Regions from separate parts of the Homo sapiens genome. Here region 2 is linked to region 1. Evidence: promoter capture Hi-C in 16 types of primary human blood cells and fetal thymus (Javierre and others, 2016). All regions are on one chromosome and are shown on one strand. Each heading gives the region's core, a stretch centred on a gene start or on the middle of the fragment in contact. The rest is flanking DNA. Distances are from core to core; before and after follow the strand shown. Region 1 holds the start of FAM174A (family with sequence similarity 174 member A). Region 2 overlaps LOC124901037 (a long non-coding RNA gene).

Region 1 (3,417 bases), core at 250-2,749:
TACTAGGATCAGAGGACTAGCTGGGTCATATTCTTTTCAAGGTTAGGGCCAGAACTTTCTGTGCAGAGAGGGCAGGCAAGTGAAAGGGGGAAAGGAATAATGAGAGAGGTAGGTGTGTGTATGCATGTGTGTGTGTTTCTGGCTCTCTCTCTGTATATATCTACCTGTATCTGTCTCTCTTTTAGCAATGAAAACAATAACTTACTCAAAAGACCCACGTATACCCTTGACAGGCATCTCATTGGTGAGAGGTACATCATGCGGCCACTTCTAGTTATCTGCACAAATTGAAGTTCCATATTACTGAAGTCAAACAGGCAAGGAAGACATTATTGAAGACTACTGCTGTTGGGAAAGGGGATAAAACTCTTCTAATCTCAACTCCTCTAAAAGAAAAAAAGGAGTGGAGAGTTATTAAGAGCTATTTTGGGAAGATCACCGGCCACCTGAGTTTGCTGATTGACTTTACCCAAAGGAAAAGTAAATTTTCTCCTCCATGACAGGAGGTGGTTTTACAACTTGAAGCGAGAAGCCTACAACAGTTAGGTTCCTTTCCTCTCACACAAAATAAGAGATGGCCCACTACCTTCCTTGCTGATTATATTTCAAAGGCATGATGGCTTTCCATACCCTTGAGATAGTTTTCAATTATATAACTGGCCAGAAGCTTTAAAAAATATTTACATCTGAAAAGGGAAGAGAAATAACTTACAATGGTAAAGTTTTCTAAAGTAATTTTTTTTAATATACTTTAAGTTCTAGGGTATATGTGCACAACGTGCAGGTTTGTTACATATGTATACATGTGCCATGTTGCTGTGCTGCACCCATTAACTCGTCATTTACATTAGGTATATCCCCTAATGCTATCCCTCCCCCCTACCCCACGACAGGCCCCGGTGTGTGATGTTCCCCATCCCGTGTCCAAGTGTTCTCATTGTTCAATTCCCACCTATGAGTGAGAACATGCAGTGTTTGGTTTTCTGTCCTTCTAATAGTTTGCTCAGAATGATGGTTTCCAGCTTCATCCATGTGCCTACAAAGGACATGAACTCATTACAAGCAAATGCTCTTTAGAAAGGGAGGTCAGGGACCCATAGGCAGGAAAAAAAGCCTGCTTAAAGCTTGTAATGAAGCTAAGGAAAACTAAGCCCTTCTGGCTTACAGATTAAATGTGTTATTGCAGTTTGACACCAATGAATTCAGATTATGAGTTTCCAATCTCTCAGGGTTCCTGCATGAGAGAGTTGCTGTACATTTTACACAATCTCTTTTTGTCTACTTACTTTCTTAATACGCATCCTTGACCGCTCCTCACTAACAGTGAAAAGAACAATGCTTCCAAAACGGTCACGTCCTCGCTTTTTACACAAGTGCGCGTGCGCACTGGGCGCTAGGCCTCTGACGTCACCAAGTGCATCCGCCCCTACAAGTTAGCAACCGAAGGCGTCCTTAGCAGCAGTGGCCGCTGAGATGTACGAACTTCCGGTTCTCCGGGCAGCTGCCACTGCTGTAGCTTCTGCCACCTGCCACGACCGGGCCTCTCCCTGGCGTTTGGTCACCTCTGCTTCATTCTCCACCGCGCCTATGGTCCCTCTTGGAGCCAGCGTGGCGGGCCTGGCGGCTCCCGGGTGGTGAGAGAGCGGTCCGGGAACGATGAAGGCCTCGCAGTGCTGCTGCTGTCTCAGCCACCTCTTGGCTTCCGTCCTCCTCCTGCTGTTGCTGCCTGAACTAAGCGGGCCCCTGGCAGTCCTGCTGCAGGCAGCCGAGGCCGCGCCAGGTCTTGGGCCTCCTGACCCTAGACCACGGACATTACCGCCGCTGCCACCGGGCCCTACCCCTGCCCAGCAGCCGGGCCGTGGTCTGGCTGAAGCTGCGGGGCCGCGGGGCTCCGAGGGAGGCAATGGCAGCAACCCTGTGGCCGGGCTTGAGACGGACGATCACGGAGGGAAGGCCGGGGAAGGCTCGGTGGGTGGCGGCCTTGCTGTGAGCCCCAACCCTGGCGACAAGCCCATGACCCAGCGGGCCCTGACCGTGTTGATGGTGGTGAGCGGCGCGGTGCTGGTGTACTTCGTGGTCAGGACGGTCAGGTGAGGCAAAGCCTCGGTGGGGCACCCCCGTGGGCCTGAGATACGCAGGCCGGTGATCTCCAGCAAGGCTGACTTCTGTGACCCTTTCCCCCTTCCCCAGCATCAGGGACTCCTGCTTAAGAATATGATATTGACTTTCTTAAAGGCCTGTTACCTTTGGAGCAATTTAAACCTATAACTAATTGCTGCCTTTTGTTTATAAATGAGTGCCCTACCTCCAAATCTCTTCATCTGACCTACAACCCACGTCAGCCTCAAAGGGCACCCTTTCTCTGAAGTGAGGATAATCTTTATTCCCTAGAATTTTGACTACTCTGTCTTGTAATACTTCTACCTTTCTAGTCTAAATTTTTGTATACCTAACTGGTCAAAATTTTGCCAATCAGAATGCAAACTCTTTAAAGACAGGATATCTATTTAGTAGGTTTGTGAGTCTTACAAATTATTTGTACAATGCTGCCACTTAATAGGAAATCAATATATATTTGAGTGGATTAATAGTAATATAGAGGTGCCTTATGGATATTTTATTTTTATAAAATTCAGGAGAAGAAAAGTTCTTCCTTACTATCAGTGTTTCCTAGTATTGCCCTTTAATCTGCCACCTAAGTGGCAGAGAATCACCTTCCTGAAGAGTTGACATACAGAGCCAAGACCTCACCATTAGGAGAAGCCAGCAAAGAGATAAGGTGAGGGAAAGCTGTCTAGCAGTTTATTTCATTATAAAATAAGTGTAGAGGGTAGGTTTGCAGCTTATGTTTGTTTATTGTTTTCAAAATTCACGTTTTTCCCATAAATACCCTCTGTATTGTAATTTAACATATTTCTTTAAACTGATTATTTAAAGCAAAAGTTTCCTTTTAAACAAGTCGTTATTATCATGAATGGAAAACCAACATCACTTGGCTAGTTAAAAAATAGTGTAAGCCAGTGGTTCTTGACATGTGGGCCAGGGAACCACACAGGTGGGAGTTTCACTTAGACCTCTTCAGGGCATCTACAGTATTAAAACTATTTTCAAAATAATACATTCTGTTACAGGCTTATAGGGTACAAGTAGTTCATTGATATTGTTTCAGATTCCACATTGCAACTAATCTTTAAGAAACTGCTTGTCAAGTTTTGGTGTAGTAGTATCATAAAGGAATAACCACTCATATATAAAAAGGCTATTAAAATGTTTCTTTCCATTCCAAGTTTATATCTGTGCGAAGATGGAATTACTTTGTATGCTTCAACCAAACAACACATTGCAAAGGATTTAATGCAGAAGTAAATATAAAAATCTATCCATTTCCTATTTTTTGTTTCTATTTTTTATCTACTC
Region 2 (3,403 bases), core at 173-2,672, 2.7 Mb after region 1:
AGACAGTAAGGAGTCTTTTTTGAGTAAATATTTAGATGTTCAAAGAACAGAAAGGGTAACTTGGAGGAGAGAAAACCTGGGCTTGGGAACAGTTTAGGACTCTTGTCTTCAGCATTTCCCAGGAAAAAGGACTCCAGTGGGCCAACAAAGAGACCCTGATAATTTGCTCAAACCCAACGTGGTATGTGTAGTTCTTACACAAATTCCGAATAAGCAGCCTTCTAATATCACATTAGTTTCTCTGCCAGAAGCGATATTTCCCAAGAGAAGTAATTAAATGGATTTTCTACTCCAAATTTGTCCTGTGTGAACTTGGGTAGTAAATTTTTCCAGGGAATGCGTGGATGAATCCTTTTATTTAGACAATCACAAACAGTAGCCTAGGATGAGAGAGAAAAGAAACTGCAAGGTGATTTTGAACACTAGTTCATCTTTCCTAATTGCATACCTCTTAACACTTCCAAGCCTTTGTCTCGTGTAACAGAAGAAGGTAATACGACTATCTTATTCATAAATAACTGTAGCGAGATTGAGATTAGTGAACATCAGGATCCGTACCATTATGTCCCTGTGAGTCTTCTAGTCATGAATTCTGTTGAAAGCTTAGGTAGGATGATCGCTTAAATATAAAAGTCTCTCAGAACTGGAAGAAGTCTGAGATATGATAATCACCTTGTAGCGTACATTATGTGTACTGTTATTAAATGTGTATGTGAAAGTTCTGGGTTTGTCCTTTCAACTAAATTATAGTTTGAACTTTAGTGCATGTAAATTATGCATTGACAAAGGCAGAATACTTTGAGACGTGAATGTTCAAGTTATTATATGTTATTGTGGGGAGTTTTAAATAGCAACTGGAAACTTATGGTAAAATATTTATTTTGAATAATTCTTCTTTACCAACATTATTTCAGAAACACATCTAACATGTGGCTGTTGAAGCAATATGGAAATATGAAATATTAAGGAAATGTCACTTATATGTTCATAAGTTTGGTTTTATGTACACTCACTTGATGTCTTGAGGAACTGGGGCTCTGTTGGTGCCATCCTCAATTAAAGTGGGAGCACTATAGATACAGCATTTTGCCAGTGTTGATCTACTGATTTAATAGGCATTCACTTGTTAAAATGAATTCACATTTATTTGTTGTCTTATTTCGTTAGGTGGCTATACGGCTGATAGTTCTCTGACTTTGAAAGTTTACTTGCAATTAATGAAAGCACCCAAGAAAAGAAGGGGAGAGGTGAATGTGGGAACTGTGGTTGCTTTCATTAAAGGTGGTTTTCCTGTAGTAAGTTGAGATGCTTTGTGTCTACTGAGTATAATCCGTGTGGCAACCTCCTCCAACTTCATAGGCTCTACTCTCTCTACAATATTTGTGAAGGAGAAGGTTTATTTCACATTCATTTCTGAGGCCTCAGTTTGGCAACCAATTTTCCACATGGCATCCCCTCCACTGCCCCCAGTTCCGGTATGGGCTTCTACCTTCTGGAACTCCATCTGTTCTCCATACTAGGGTGCTGGGCTGGACTTCACGTTGCTGATGTAGAAATTCTATACATCTTTTATTACTATGTGCCGTAATTCCCTCAGAGCACCAGCAGTCATCACTGCTGTGTGGGTGGAAGTTTTCCCTGAAGAATTTGGAGTTATTAAAGAAAATTCACTACAACAGAGAGGGGAAAACCCTTTTAAATTGTACCCTAAATATGTTTGTTTCTCTAGTCTAAATTCATGTTAAGGAACATAAACTATTTCTTAACTGCAGTATAATATGGAAAGATGGGACACACTTTACATTGCTGTATAGAGCCATGTCTGTTCTCCCTAGCTTACCTCACAGGTGCCCTTGTTTTCTGACGTATGTGTCCATAAAGCCTTCCCACTATTAGTTGTCTTGGTGGGTCTCTGTTTTTTAGAACTAAGCCTTTTGCTTTCTATAATTTTAGCTCTCCTTAAGCCTCTCCCACATTTCAGGTATATAAGTTATATTAATACTGAAAGCAATCTGGAAAAATGAATATTAGTTTTCTAGATAAGGAAACAGTGTTAGATAGGTCAGATAATTTGAACAATGTCACATGTCTAGAAATCCTAGATTGTATGCTTTCAAAGTCCATGCTATCATCTGAGATTTGTATCACATTGTATCTTGTAAAGTAATTGAGTGACATGATAAGATGTCAAGGCTGCTTCAACTGACCCATAAATGTGCAAATATTTTACAGCAATAGGAACAAAGCTTTTTTTTTCTGTTAACTTCCTTTTTTCAGGAAAAGAATGAGTATAGAGATGAGTATAGAGATCTTTTGAAATCATAATTTCAAAAGATAAAGGTTTTGGCTAAGTGCTTGGGAAGAGTAACAAGTTGCAATACTGTAGTAGCTTCATTATTAGAAAGCTAAAAAACTTCATATAATTTCTGACTAGAAAGTTAACAGATTAATCAAGACTGTTAGCAATTGGAAAGTCTCAAGCTTTGGTTGAGAATGTTTCATTGACATTTAAAATTTTAATTTTTTAAAATGGGCATTTATTTTACATAATCAAAATTCAAAACATACAAAAGAATGTATAATGAAAAGTTTACCTCCCAACCCTGTCCCCAGGCCATCAGCTGTTTCTCCCTAAAGATAACTAATATTTTCCACTTCTCATTGTGGTTTTGATTTGCATTTCTCTAATGATGAGTGATGTTGAGCATTTTTTCATGTGCTTGTTGGCCATGCGTATGTCTTCTTTTGCAAAGTGTCTGTTCATGTCCTTTGCCCACTTTTTAATGGGGTTGTTTTTTGCTTGTTAATTTATTAGGTCTCCTTTTAGATTCTGGATATTATGTATTTGTTGGATGCATAGTTTGCAAATATTTTCTCCTGTTCTGTAGGTTGCCTGTTTACTCTGTTGATAGTTTCTTTGGCTGTGCAGAAGCTCTTTAGTTTAGGTAGGTCCCATTGGTCAATTTTTGTTTTTGTTGCAAATTGCTTTTGGAGTCTTCATCATGAAATCTTTACCAAGGCCTATGTCCAGAATGGTATTTCCTAGGTTTTCTTCTAGGGTTTTTGTAATTTTAGGTTTTATGTTTAAGTAGTTAATCCATTTTGCATGGATTTTTGTATATGGTGAAAGGAAGGAGTCCAGTTTCAATCTTCTGCATATGGCTAGCCAATGATCCCAGCACTATTTACTGAATAAGGAGTCCTTCCACCATTGCTTCTTATTGTTGATTTTGTTGATGATTAGGTGATTGTAGGTGTGTGGCTTTATTTCTGGGATCTCTAACCTGTTTCCATTGGTCTATGTATTTGTTTTTGTACCACTATCATGCTGTTTTGGTTACTGTAGCCTTATAGTATAGTTTGAAGTTGGGTTGTGTGATGCCTCTGGCTTTGTTCTTTTTGC

Evidence for each region. The method cuts DNA at HindIII sites, captures the fragments that hold promoters and counts their contacts. A CHiCAGO score of 5 or more calls a contact.
Region 2: a fragment that was not itself captured here is called in contact with the fragment with the promoter of FAM174A in region 1 in 1 of 17 cell types (total CD8 T cells); the score reaches 5.3 in total CD8 T cells.

Annotation. Positions count from the first base shown.
Region 1 is chr5:100,533,875-100,537,291 of GRCh38, forward strand. It overlaps FAM174A (family with sequence similarity 174 member A), which reads left to right and starts at 1,500. Exons shown (of 3, transcript NM_198507.3): 1 at 1,500-2,090. The coding sequence starts at 1,657. FAM174A-DT (FAM174A divergent transcript) reads right to left here and starts at 1,369. Exons shown (of 5, transcript NR_172939.1): 1 at 1,287-1,369; 2 at 206-278. RefSeq lists an enhancer at 1,459-1,758. The HindIII fragment of the contact is 3,135 bases long and covers 1,123-3,417 here.
Region 2 is chr5:103,244,671-103,248,073 of GRCh38, forward strand. It overlaps LOC124901037 (a long non-coding RNA gene), which reads right to left. Exons shown (of 2, transcript XR_007058894.1): 2 at 1,127-1,670. Among named protein-coding and RNA genes, the nearest start is that of MACIR, 12 kb to the right of the region's middle. The HindIII fragment of the contact is 1,644 bases long and covers 601-2,244 here.